3 separate regions of the Homo sapiens genome follow, and regions 2 and 3 are each linked to region 1. Evidence: promoter capture Hi-C in 16 types of primary human blood cells and fetal thymus (Javierre and others, 2016). All regions are on one chromosome and are shown on one strand. Each heading gives the region's core, a stretch centred on a gene start or on the middle of the fragment in contact. The rest is flanking DNA. Distances are from core to core; before and after follow the strand shown.

Region 1 (4,424 bases), core at 1,250-3,749:
AAAACTACAAGGTTTTAATTAGATAAAACTAATTAATTTTAATTAATTAGTTTTTAATTAATTAGGTTTTAATTGGCTTCTGTTTCACCCATTTCACAGCCCCATGTCTTAACGGAGAGCTTTTTTATTTATTTCAAGATATAGAAATCTCTACTGAAGAGGAAAAGGATACTGGAGATCTAAAAGATAGCTCTCTCTTGAAAACAAAAAGGAAACATAAGAAAAAACATAAAGAGAGACATAAAATGGGAGAAGAAGTTATACCATTAAGAGTGCTATCAAAGTAAGTCTGTGGTTTAAATTCTGTCATTGGCTTAACAATCCATCACCATTGCTAAAGTGCAATTCCAATTTATATTCAACAGAGTTGCATATTAGCAACAGTAATGGCCTGTAGCCAAGAACTGCACACAGTGTGGGCGTTAACGCAATTGCTGATTAGGTAGGAACCACCACACTCAAACATGGAAGCACTTATTTTTGTCATGTCACAGCAAGTGCCTCCATGTTAAAGTAGAGGGGGCCCCTTAACAGATGTAAAAATACAAAATAAAGCTTAAATATATGAGCTGCGGTCAATACAATAAAGTTATTTTCTAAAAAAATAATAAAAATGTAAAAGGAAGACTTACCATCACCAAAACATGGAAGCACTTACTTCTTTAGTTTCAAAGCAAGTACATCCACGTTTAAGTGGTGGGGAGCCCAGTCTTGGAAAAAGTTAGAATCCTTTAACCTGTAACAAGCTTAGTAACCTTAAAACACAATAACAAAAAAATTTTGTAACAAAAGGTGTGCTGGCTTGGAGACACCTCCACTGAAACATGGAAGCACTTACTTTTGTTTCACACAGCAGGTACCCCCATGTTAAAGCAAAGGGGATCCCTTCAAATGAGGTTAGCGTGTTCTATTTTGGAGAAGTAAATTGGATTCACTCCTACTAAAACATGGAAGCACTTACTTTTAAAGTCACAGAAAGCACTTCCATGTTAAAGTTGAAGGGAGCCCACCCAACATACAACTTCTTTGGACTTCAGAGTATTTAGAGCTGAGGAGAAAGAAAACAAAATGGCATAACTTTAGAAGAAAAAAATTTTTTTACCTTCCTGAACTAGTTCCCAAAGATTCGTGTTCTCCTCCAGAAGGGTAAAAGGCAGGGACTTCAGCCACTTCTATTTATACTATTCTTAACTCTTGAATTCCTTTTGCCTTTTTATCTCAGAGAATCATTACAAGGGCCTTTTGTTATTTTAATGTATCAGCTCTCAGGGAATGTATGATCCTGGGTGGGTCTGGATCCTTTTTTTTTTTTTTGAAGTATACAGATGTCAATGTTAACAGCTAAAACCATTACCACAAGATATCTTCCTCTTAAAAAAAAAAAAGAAAAAGAAAAAGAAAATCTCCTATCTGCTTGTTTGATGGCATAGATTAGGGTAACAATGAGTGCTCCCACTGAGCCGAGAAAGGCATTGTGTTTCTATCTGGAGGAACTCTGTTTGAAGAAGCATCTACATGTTAAATGTATGTAAATAAATAGATTGCTTCCACGGGGTGTTTTGTTCTACTTAGAAATTCTTTTTGATTCAAGTAAATACTAAGGAATGTTATCTCTCAAATTGGAAGCAGTTTAACAAATCTTTAATCTCGCCCTTTTCCCACAGAGATGACTGATTTAGTAAATGTTACTAGTTAAGGAATTAATGCTAAAATTTTACTTTTATAAATTAAAATACTTCAGACACTCAAAAATTTAATTGGCAATCTTAAAACATTTAATCTGAATATTGGGGGAAGAGGAACTCCCTTAGCTTATTTTGCTAAATGTCTTTAGAACCTAGGAAATATTTTGAATATGTGTTTAAAGAAACAGGAAAGTTGGTGGAGGAGTTGCTCCAAGTCATTGTGAATGTATATATTTAGATATTTCCCTATTTACTTTTTATATTTAGTCATCTGTTATCACCATTTCTTTCCTTGTAGGAGCGAATGGATGGATTTGAAAAAAGAGTATTTAGCGCTACAAAAAGCTAGCATGGCTTCTTTAAAAAAAACAATATCCCAAATAAAATCAGAGTCAGAAATGGAAACAGACAGTGGAGTACCTCAAAACACTGGAATGAAAAATGAAAAAAGTAAAGATCACTGATAGTTTTGACAACATTATAATGTACTTATATATGTAAATGCTATCTCTGAGTTGTTATAAGATAAATTTTAATTTTAAAAAACTTGATTATTCTATTTCATTATTAGAACAATTCTTGATTTGTTAAGTTATCCAGATGTGTTACTTACTCTTGATATAAGAATATTTAAAAGGCTCATTTAAAACAATTTTTTAAATAACCTGAGTTTTCTCTACAGTTTTCATCAAGCACATGAGTGCAGAGTTTGCAGACTGAGCAAGTTTGTAGGAATGAAGATTGTAGTTTCTCACCTGTTAATTTCATTCTGTAGTATGCACCACAAGCAGGAACAAGTTAAAGCAGAATTCCTATGAATTCAAAATTAGGATACATTTTAAATTCTCATTTCTTGTAAAAATAAATGTTCACGTTTGAATAATAATGTATTTAAAACACAGTATCCTTTAACTTTTTTTTAACTTTATTGAGTAAAAATTTACTGTTCCTTTGTTCAGGGAGAAGGGGCAAATTTAAAGGCTTTACGAATGCTCTTCTAGCAGTAACAATTTGCATGTAGAATAATAAAACTTTCTGAGTTTTATTCATGGTATTTTGAAATAAGCAGTATGACATATAACCTTTAATTGTTTACTTTAAAATTAAATACGTTTTAAATTATTTAAATCTGCCTCAGGAATTATTCTAAGGTAGTCCTCCTAAGTATTAAATTGTTGTTAAGTGTAAGAGATTTAGTCCTGGTCTTTTTCCTTTTCTAATCAGCAGCCAACAGGGAAGAGTGTCGCACCCAGGAGAAAGTTAATGCAACAGGACCACAGTTCGTGAGTGGAGTGATTGTGAAGATCATTAGCACAGAGCCTCTACCTGGCAGGAAACAAGTCCGGGTAATGATTTTGAGCCCCTAGGGTATTTGTTCCTTTCTTCTCTTATTATTTCCCTGTGTGAAAATGTTTTGAATATGGAAGATAAAACAAATCAAGTTAGAATTTGTTTCCCTATGGTAAACTACTGTACAGTTTTAATTCCATGGTAACTCTTAGGTTTAATTTTGAAGCAAAATCTAGAGGCTGAAATTCCTCACTAAATCTATATGTAAGCACAGTTTAAACATCCTTCTCTATAGGAAAATTGTAACTTTTGCTTATTTTTATTGGCACTGATTTTTTTTGTATTACCTATGTGCTGATTATCTTTAAAATTTTAATTATAGAAAAGTAAAATATTTTTGAAAACCTCTTAAAATTTTTCACGCATGTGCCAAAAAACCCATACTTCTATATAATTTACGCTACAAATTGCTGTACATACAGGTTTATAATTTTTTCGCTTTATACAGTCTATCTTCTGTAGCCTTTTATACCACATTGGTAGCAATACTTTCTATTAGGGAAATTATATACTTTTAGGTGAGAGTACCATATCTTATTTACCCTTACCCTGCCTGTCACCCATTTAAGTGAATCCTTTTCTTTTTAAAAAGTGTGAAATGCTCTGTAACATACCACATATTTTAAGTATTTTCTTATACTGACATTCATCATCACTTAGTATGTTGTTTTGGTTTTACGTAGACTCATCAGTCACAGGTTTTAACTTGAATACCATTGAGGTGGTGGTTTGTTTATCTGTAAGCCCTCCTTATCTGAAATACTGTCCTACAATCCTATAGCTGTCACTAAGAAACAAATTTTGATCCTCTTTGCAATGTTGGTGAAGGATTTGGCCAAATCCAAATTGCTATTACCAGCTTGCATTTCAGGAGACAGCTGAAAATTGAGGGATGTAAATACTGCTCTGATTAATCAGATTGCAAAACATTTAATACAAAAATTGCTCAGAGTTATTTCTAATCAACTCATTAAATAACTTCTGTTATTTAAAGGGTAACTTTATCAATTACAAATTCATCATTTATGATCATCAAAATCATAAAATCAATCCCTGCATTAATCCAGTTAGTAGTTACTTACATTTTGCTGAAACAAAAACTGAGCTGTGTTGGTTACAACTGTCTGTGACTTGCCCATGTGATTACCAGGCTAATTTGTCATTCTATGGGTTTTAAATTCTAAGGGTTTTAAATCAAGAGATTAGCCTGACATTATAATGGATATTTAGTATATATCTTTTGAGTTGTAGTAATTGAATATGCTCAAAAGTCAGTTATAAAACTCATTACTACTACTGAATGCATTCAAATTTCAACAATACTGAGTTTTTTACTTGCTTTATATCTAAATTTGGTACTAATTAACTAGGTAAAGAAGTGGGAAGGAC
Region 2 (4,399 bases), core at 1,880-4,379, 37 kb before region 1:
CAAGACTCCATCTCAAAACGAAGAAAAAAAAAAAAGAAATACTAGAACACCATCACTAATATGAAATAAAAACTGGCCAGGCATTGTGGCTCACACCTGTAATTCCAACACTTTAGAGGCTGGGGCTGGAAGACTGCTTGAGCCCATGAGTTTGAGACCAGCTGGGGAACATAGTGAAACCCCATCTCTACAAAAAATGTAACAGTTAGTTAGGTATGGTGGCATGCACCTGTAGTCCCAGCTACTCAGGAGGCTGAGGCAGGAGAATCACTTGAGCCCAGGAGGTCAAGGCTGCAGGAGCCAATCACGCTACTGCAGTCCAGCCTGGGCAACAGAGCAATAACCTGTCTCAGAAAAAAATACATACATAAAAAGTAAAATCCTGATAAAACAGTATTGTCATTTAGCAAGAATTTAAAAAGCTTACAACGGTACTAGTAAAAATGAAGTAAAATAAATATTCTAATTGTAAAACATTAAAATTTTTATATTTGAAAATATCATGGCCAAGCACGGAGGCTCATGCCTATAATCGCAGCACTTTGGGAGGCCGAGGTGGGCAGATTACCTGAGGACAGGAGTTCGAGACCAGCCTGGCAAACATGGCGAAACCCCATCTCTACTAAAAATACAAAAATTATCCACACATGGTGGCGTGAGCCTGTGGTCCCAGCTACCCAGGAGGCTAAGGCAGGAGAATTGCTTGAACCCAGGAGGCAGAGGCTGCAGTAAGCCGAGATCATGCCACTGCTCTCCAGCCTGGGCAATAGAGCAAGACTCCGTCTCAAAAAAAAGAAAGAAAAGAAAAAAAAAAGAAAATATCAAGAACCCAAGAAAGAAAGTTGTTCCTAGCCTTCCAAATAATTACTTCTACTTCTGGAATCAAATCTAAGGAAAAAACTTAAAATGCAAACAATGATTTATGTGTAAAAACATTTATTAAAGTGTTACTTATAATAGCAAAATGCTGGAAATTATTTAAATGACCAAAACAGAGAACTATTTGTCCAAAGCACAAGATAGCCATAGGATGGATGGTAAATAACTTTTAAAAAGTATGTTTAAGAAGAATTATTAATAATGTAAGATAATACAACGATATTAAGGGGAAAGGATATAAAACTATTTATATACATCAATCTAACCATTTTTTTTAACTGGACACAAAAAAATCTGGAAACATTAATAAATATTCTGAGAGGCAGGGTAGGTTTTATTTTTTTCTTCACTGTTTTCTGTATTTAGAAAAAAGAAAAAAAAATCAACATTATTAAAAGGGGAAAAAAAGGACCAGTAACATAAAGAATAAAGTAAGATATAAAATGGAGGCAAGTGAGGCCGGGCCTGGTGGCTCATGCCTGTAATCCCAGCACTTTGGGAGCCTGAGGCGGGTGGATCACTTGAGGTCAGGAGTTGGAGACCAGCCTGGCCAACATGGTGAAACTCCATCTCTACTAAAAATACAAAAATTAGCTGGGTGTGGTGGCACGCACCTGTAATCCCAGCTACTTGGGAGGCTGGGGCAGGAGAATCACTTGAACCTGGGAGATGGAGGCTGCAGTGAGCCAAGATCGTGCCACTGCACTCCAGCCTGGGCGAAAGAGAGAGACTCCATCTCAAAATAAATAAAAACAAAAATAAAATGGAGGCAAGTGAAACATTCTACTTTCTTTTGTTCCAAACATGTCTGTAGAAAGACCAGTGCCATATAATGAAAGAACTGACCCTCCAAAAGTGCTAACAGCATCCCCATTGAGTGAGAAACACTCATCTAGATGATTTATCCTAGAATTTCAATTCATCCTAATTAGAACTATTATTTTTTATATAACTACCATGGTTCCCAAACTGTGCAACAAGGTACCCTGAGGTGGCACAATGAACTCACAGGAGCTCCATAAGGTGTTTTATATGTAGGGTAACAGTGTCACCTGACATCTGTCTGACACCTAATGAACTACTAACTCCAGGTCTGTTTCTACATCAGATCTTGCTACATTTCTTTCAATGACATTGCACCTTTGTGAAGCTGGGTTCTGAGAAACTGCTGTGATAAAAAGCAATTATCATGAGAAAATCAACGTGTAACAAGAAATAAGGTGGTGTTACCTAATCTATTCCAAGGTTTGAGAAGTTGTATAGTGCCCAACAGAGGTACACATTCCATTAGTAACTGTGGGGTTTTGTTTTTTTTTTTTGAGATGGAGTCTCACTCTTGTTGCCCAGGCTGGAGTGCAATGGCATGATCTCGGCTCACTGCAACCTCCGCCTCCTGGGTTCAAGTGATTCTCCTGCCTCAGCCTCCCAAGTAGCTGAGATTACAGGTGCATGCCACCATGCCTGGCTAATTTTTGTGTTTTTAGTAGAGATGGGGTTTCACCACATCAGCCAGGCTGGTCTCGAATTCCTGACCTCAAGTGATCTGCCTGCCTCAGCCTCCCAAAGTGCTGGGATTACAGGCGTGAGCCTCCACGTCCAGCCATGTAACTGTGTTTTTTAACAAACAAAATGCTTACAAAGTTACTAGGAAATACTTGAGTTGCTTAATACTATTAACTACATAATAAATGAAACTGTTAGGCATTTCTTTTGGCTGAGGAAGGCAATGAAAAATTACTGAGATACAGCAGGAGTCATGAACCAAGATAGCTTGGGACTGTATTACTATAATTCTATTACAAATTATAGAACATTCTTATCAAAATAAAAAAAACATACTCTTAGAAAAAAAACCTGTACCTGTTGAGAATCCTTGTGCAGATGAGGAGACTTTGGTGAAACTACTGTAATAAATGGTTTCCTCACTGTAATGGAGAAAAGAAATAATCATATCATTGTTATATATAGCAGTACTCTAAAATTTAACTTATTCCTAAAACCAAAACAAGGAATATAACTTAAATTTTAAGATCAGACAATCTTGGTAATTGTTCAATCTGGAATGTAGCACTTGAGGATTCACTGTACTGTTCTCTGTTTAGATTAAAACATTTTTATGATAAAAATTTTAAAATATTTAGAATGAAAGCCTTTTTGTTTACTTTCTAAGTCAATAGTAGGAATGTTTCCTTGTACTCCTTTTTTACACTAATTAAAAAATAAATACTAACCCAATAGTTAATAACCTATACTAAAAATGCTAAAAATGAAGTACCGGACAACTGTTAGGAAAGAAAGTCAAGACTCCCAGTATACTGTTGCTATGTACAAACAGAAAAGAAAAACAGAGTCGGGCATGGTGGCTCATGCCTGTAATCCCAGCACTTTAGGAGGCCAAGGCAGGCAGATCACTTGAGGCCAGGATTTCAAGACCAGCCTGGCCAACATGCTGAGACCTTGTCTCTACTAAAAATACAAAAATTAACCAGACATGGTGGTGCACAACTATAATCCCAGCTACTCAGGAAGCTGAGGCAGGAGAATCACTTGAACTCGGGAGGTGGAGGTTGCAGTGAGCTAAGATCGCACCACTGCACTCCAGCCTGGGTGAGAGTGAGACCATGTCTCAAACAAAAGAAAAAAAAACAGCACTTCATGCTATTTCTAGTCTATCTTAAATCCATTTTTACTATGGCTTAAGAAAAAAATTCTATATTCTAAAAAATTCACTCAACAATTATTTTCCAAGTGCAGTGTGCCAGGCACTAGGGAAATAGCAGTGAACAAGACAAAAAAAAATTCCTTGAAAAAAGAGAGACACAAAAGACAAACAAATAACTAAACCAGATAAATTCAGATTATGATACAAAAGGGTATCTCATTGAACAGTGATATGATACAGAACGATTTTTGATACAGGAATTAGGAAAAGTTTCTCATGGGAAGTAACATTTAAGTTGAGATGAAGAAAAAACTCAGCTATGACAAGGGTAAAAGTGTTCGGGTAAAAGGCTGAATACAAAACAGCAGAAAAGTTGGCAAGCCTGCAGAATGCAAAGGAGTGCAGGGTGGCTAGTTTTGCCACCTTATCAGGTATCCATTTAAAAATAGAAATTTTTTTTCTTAAAAAAAAGTACATATTCAATAATCTCCTCTTCTAAAATCACAAAAAGACTAATTTTAAAGTGATAATTACGGTAAAAAATCATAGCTATAACTAGTGTAAACTTCATTTTTAGGCAATTGCTATTTATGATTTCATTGTTTTCCTGCTAAAATTCAGAATAAAATAAAAAATAATTTTGGAACTTGACATTTCTAACAAGTTTTTTTAAAACACCAGATGAAAATTGATATTGTTTTCCTTTACTGCCTTTGCTCCAGAAAAACATTCTAAATTAACATTTCTAAGCTATATACAATTATCTCACAAAAAATTTAGAGTTTTAACACTTTCGCACATTCTAAATTGGTGGCAAAATTTCTTCTTCTCTAATTTTGCTTTAAACTTCATAAAAGT
Region 3 (4,598 bases), core at 758-3,257, 57 kb before region 1:
TTTCATTCCTCTGATCAAAACCCTCCAATGGCTCCCAATCTCTCTTAAAGTATGAGGCAGCTCTTACAAAGTCCTATGCAGCCCTACCTCATCAGCCCCTTACCTCCTGTTTAACCTCACTGCCTATCACCCTCCCCCTCACTCACTCACTCCATGGCAGCCTCCTTGCTGTTTTACACACCAGCCATCATTCTTCTGCCCCAAAACCTTTGCTCTTGCTATTCCCTGTGCCTGGAATGCCTTTCCCCTAGATATCTGCATGCCTTTCTCCCTCTCTTCATTCAGATCTCGACTCCAGTGTCATCTTATCAGAGAGGCTTACCTTGCCTAAAATAGAACTCCACTCCCATGTGCACTCCCTATCCCCCTACATACCAGTGTCATTCTTCAGAGCACTTAAGACACTCTGAGGTGCTGTATATTTATTTATTTTCTGTCTCCTTTAACTAGAATGTAAGTTCTATGAGGGAAAGATCATGCCTGCTTTATTCACAAGCCTATCTCTAGACCAAGAACAGTGTAACATAACAGGCATTGCTCAAGAAATATTTGTCAAATGAGTGACTGATTAAATAAATACACTCATTTTAAGGAGTTTGCTACATACATGGTCTCCATTTTCTTACCTCTCATTCATTCTTTTTTTTTTTTTTTTTTTGAGATCAAGTCTCACTGTGTTGCCCAGGCTGGAGTGCAGTGGCGTGATCTCAGCTCACTGCAACCTCTAACTCCCAAGTACAAGCAATTCTCGTGCCTCAGGCTCCTGAGTAGCTGGGACTACAGGCGTGTGCCACCACCCCAGGCTAATTTTTGTGCTTTTAGTAGAGACGGGGTTTCACCATGTTGGCCAGGCTGGTGTCAAACTTCTGACCTCAGGTGATCCACCTGACTCGGCCTCCCAAAGTGCTAAGATTACAGGTGTCAGCCACCACGCCAGGCCTCATTCACTTTTTAAATGACTCTAAACTAATTCTTACCCTATTTCATTGAAATTGCTCTTGCCAAGGTCACCACTGACCTCCAAGTTGCTAAATGAAATGGACATATTTCTGTCCTCATTTTATTGGATGTCTCAATAATAATTCACATAACTCTCTCTATCCCAATTCTTGATACAAATATAACCCATTCTCTTCTCTATGCTCTCTTTAAATGAACCCATCCACTCTTACTGCTTTAAACTTTTCTTTGTGCAAATGACTCCACAAATATCTCCTCTAAATCAGACTCATGTACTCAACTTCTTACTTAGCATCTCTATTTGATGGTTTCACAGGTATTATTTATTTATTCTTATGTATTCACCAAACCTGCTCCTCCCTGCTATGGAGAGAATTATGTACCCACAAAAAATGTATATGTTGAAGCCTTAACCTCCAATGTGATTATATTTGAAGACACAGCCTTTAGGAGATAACTAGGGTTAAATGAGGTCATAAGAGTGGGGCCCTTACCCAACTGAATTAGTTACCTTACAAAGAGAGACAACAGAGAATTCTCTCTCTTCAAATGCACACAAGAAAAGGACATGTAAGGACATAGGGAGAAGGCAGCTATCTGTAAGCCATGAAGAGGGGCTCATCAGAAACAGAATTGGCTGGAACCTTGATCTTGGACTTCTAGCTTTCAGACTGTGAGAAAATTAATTTCTGTTGTTTAAGCCATCTAGCCTGTGGTATTTTGTTATGGCAACCCTAGCAAACTAATACACTTCCCCATCTTGCTTTACTCAATGAAAATTGCCTCAGTCTGCCCAGTTGTTTTTCTTCTCCCTTTCTTTCACCCTACTCCTTACATTTAATCCAGTAACATCCATGATTCTACCTCCAAGATTTGTCTTAAACCCACCAACTCCACTATACTTTCACTGCCACAATCCCTACTTCAATTCACTATCATCAAAGCATTCTCTTAACTGGTTTCTCCGCTTCTACCACTGTGTCCATCCAAGCCATCTTCTATATAGCAGCCAGCAAAAACTTTAAAAATATAAATTGAATCATGTCACTTCATGCTGCATCCTTCAGTGATTTCCCAGTGGCACGCACAATAAAAATCAAAGTTTTGATTTTATTCTGAACCTGGCCTGAAGACTCTATGTCTATGTCTGGCCCAGCTGACCTGTCCAGCCTCATTAATTACCATTTTCTGTTTCATTCACCACAATCCAGATACCTTGGCCTTCTTTCACTTCCTCAAACTCACTCAACTTTTCAATCTCAGGGAATTTACACATGCTGTTTCTTTGCATGGTATGTTCAGTCCCTCACTGTTGCCAATGCTGGAGAAGCCCTCCTTTATCACCCATTTTATTATTTATTTATCTATTTATTTTAAGACAGGTCTTGCTCTGTTGCTCAGGCTGGAATGCTCACAGCTCACTACAGCCTTAACCTCCCAGGATCAATTGATCGTCCCACCCCCGCCTCCTGAGTAGCTGGCACTACAGTTGTGTGACACCACACCTGGCTAATTTTTAGAGATGGGGATTCCCTGTTGCCCAGGCTGTTCTCACTTGAACTCCTGGGCTCAAGCAATCCTCCCGCTTTGGCCTCCCTTAGTGCTAAGATTACAGGTGTGAGCCACCGTCCCCAGCCTAATCACCCATTCTAAAGTAGATTCCCTTATAATTTGAGAGTACTTTCACAGATTTCCTACATAGCAATTATCTCAATTTATTTGTTTGTTTGTTTATTCTCCTGATTAACATCTCCCTCCCCCTGCTGACCTTTAAGGTCATATCTGGTTTGTCCATCAATCTATACCCAAGTCTTACAAGTCTTCTGACCCACAGAAGGTATTCAATAGGTACTTTTGAATTCTTATTTATTCACAAATTTTATATTCAACAGTAAATTTCATAGTCTGTTTTACACATGTCCTGCACATTTCTAACAAATATCATTTGTTACTACTGTTGGGACTCTTTTTCTACTATATTTTCTAATTGGTTAGGAAAGCTATTAATTTTTTAAGTTTTTTGTTTTCGGTTTGGTTTTTTTTTTTTTTCTTTGAGACAGACACTCGCTCTGTCACCCAGGCTAGAGTGCAGTGGCATGATCTTAGCTCACAGCAACCTCCACCTCCCAGGTTCAAGCGATTCTCCTGCCTCAGTCTCCCAAGTAGCTGGGATTACAGGCACATGCCACCACGCCCAGCTAATTTTTGTATTTTTGGTAGAGATGGGGTTTTACCATGTTGGCCTGGCTGGTCTCGAACTCCTGACCTCAAATGATCTGCCCACCTCAGCCCCCCAAAGTGCTGGGATTACAGGTGTGAGCCACCACGCCTGGCCTAATTTTTCAAGTTTATCTTGTCTTCAGGTCCTTTCTAAAATCCCTTCTAAACTTTCAAGTTTTAATTGGTTATTTTAATTCTATTTCTTCCTTTATAATTATGCATGTTTCGTTTCCTGTCATATTTCAAAGATCAAAACATCTTTAAATGACAAAGAAAGCAGTCATCTATGTTTTGTTAGATTTTAACAAAAATTACTCCACAGGCCAGGTGCGGTGGCTCACGCCTGTAATCCCTAGCACTTTGGGAGGCTGAGGCAGGCAGATCACCTGAGGTCAGGAGTTTGAGACCAGCCTGGCCAACATGGTGAAACCCCATCTCTACTAAAAATATAAAATTCTTATGACTCACATTTTTTTACATTTTAATGTCTTTGAAATAGGGAAACACTTTAAAAGTGATGACATTTTTACATCTCTATAGCACAGGCAACAGTTGTGACATAGTTGTCATTGCCTGTACATGTGCAAATGTATGCAAATTAGTCATGCTGTTCATCTTAATAATCACTTAAATATGAATTGGTCTGTGCATTGCTAATATCAAACACGTTCTAAGTAATTTTGCTGTTTAAATGTCTTCAAAAGATTATACTATGATTTAGCCCTGAACAAAAAATTATTATGTTCAAAGAAAGGCAAGAGAACAAAGCAGTGTAATATACAATTAAAAACTGTGCCCAACACAGCATAGTGGCTCACGTCTATAAACCCTGCACTTTGGAAGGCGAAGGCAAAAGGATCGCTTGAGGATAGGAGACCAGCCTGGGCAACATAGTGAGAGCCAGTCTCTACAAAACATAAATATATATGTTTGTGTGTATATATGTGTGTGTGTGTGTGTATTTATATATATATCAAAATATATGTATGCCCAAATAAGCTTAAAAGCATTCTTTCAATAAATATAACATTAGAAGTCTAAGTGAAGATTAAAAAATTCTGGAGATCCATTTCAAAACAACGTAAGTATACTTAACACTACTGAACTGGTTGAAATAGTAAATTTTATGATATATGGTTTTCACCACAATAAATATTTTATAATGTTTTTAAAGTCTAGGATAAAAAACATTGTGTAATGTCTAAATGACTACTCTTCTTTCTTAGTGCTGTATAACAAACTGGTGCTTTTTACAGTAGTAGTATCTCAGAATTTGATAAAAATACAGAATTTCTTGTAAGTCCAGAGATTGCTACATGCAAGCAATGTCACGCTTATTCAAAAAAGCACTTATCTGTTTGTAGATCTAATCATTTTGTTTTAGAACATTTTTGTAAACTCAGAATATAAAGCATATA

Evidence for each region. Contacts are between HindIII fragments. The CHiCAGO score rates a contact against its expected background, and 5 or more counts as called.
Region 2: a fragment that was not itself captured here is called in contact with the fragment with the promoter of MIR302CHG in region 1 in 1 of 17 cell types (neutrophils); the score reaches 6.3 in neutrophils.
Region 3: a fragment that was not itself captured here is called in contact with the fragment with the promoter of MIR302CHG in region 1 in 1 of 17 cell types (neutrophils); the score reaches 5.0 in neutrophils.

The regions. Positions count from the first base shown.
Region 1 is chr4:112,647,552-112,651,975 of GRCh38, forward strand. It overlaps MIR302CHG (miR-302/367 cluster host gene), which reads right to left and starts at 2,500. Exons shown (of 3, transcript NR_146092.1): 1 at 2,441-2,500; 2 at 962-1,048. It overlaps LARP7 (La ribonucleoprotein 7, transcriptional regulator), which reads left to right. Exons shown (of 13, transcript NM_016648.4): 8 at 139-283; 9 at 1,984-2,135; 10 at 2,910-3,031. It overlaps MIR367 (microRNA 367), which reads right to left and starts at 390; the gene lies at 323-390. It overlaps MIR302D (microRNA 302d), which reads right to left and starts at 520; the gene lies at 453-520. It also overlaps MIR302A, MIR302C and MIR302B. RefSeq lists an enhancer at 1,320-2,042. The HindIII fragment of the contact is 6,288 bases long and covers 745-4,424 here.
Region 2 is chr4:112,609,785-112,614,183 of GRCh38, forward strand. It overlaps ZGRF1 (zinc finger GRF-type containing 1), which reads right to left. Exons shown (of 28, transcript NM_018392.5): 7 at 2,740-2,804. Among named protein-coding and RNA genes, the nearest start is that of ZGRF1, 25 kb to the right of the region's middle. The HindIII fragment of the contact is 5,419 bases long and covers 421-4,399 here.
Region 3 is chr4:112,591,458-112,596,055 of GRCh38, forward strand. All of the region lies in intron 10 of ZGRF1 (zinc finger GRF-type containing 1), which reads right to left. Among named protein-coding and RNA genes, the nearest start is that of ZGRF1, 43 kb to the right of the region's middle. The HindIII fragment of the contact is 4,339 bases long and covers 1-4,177 here.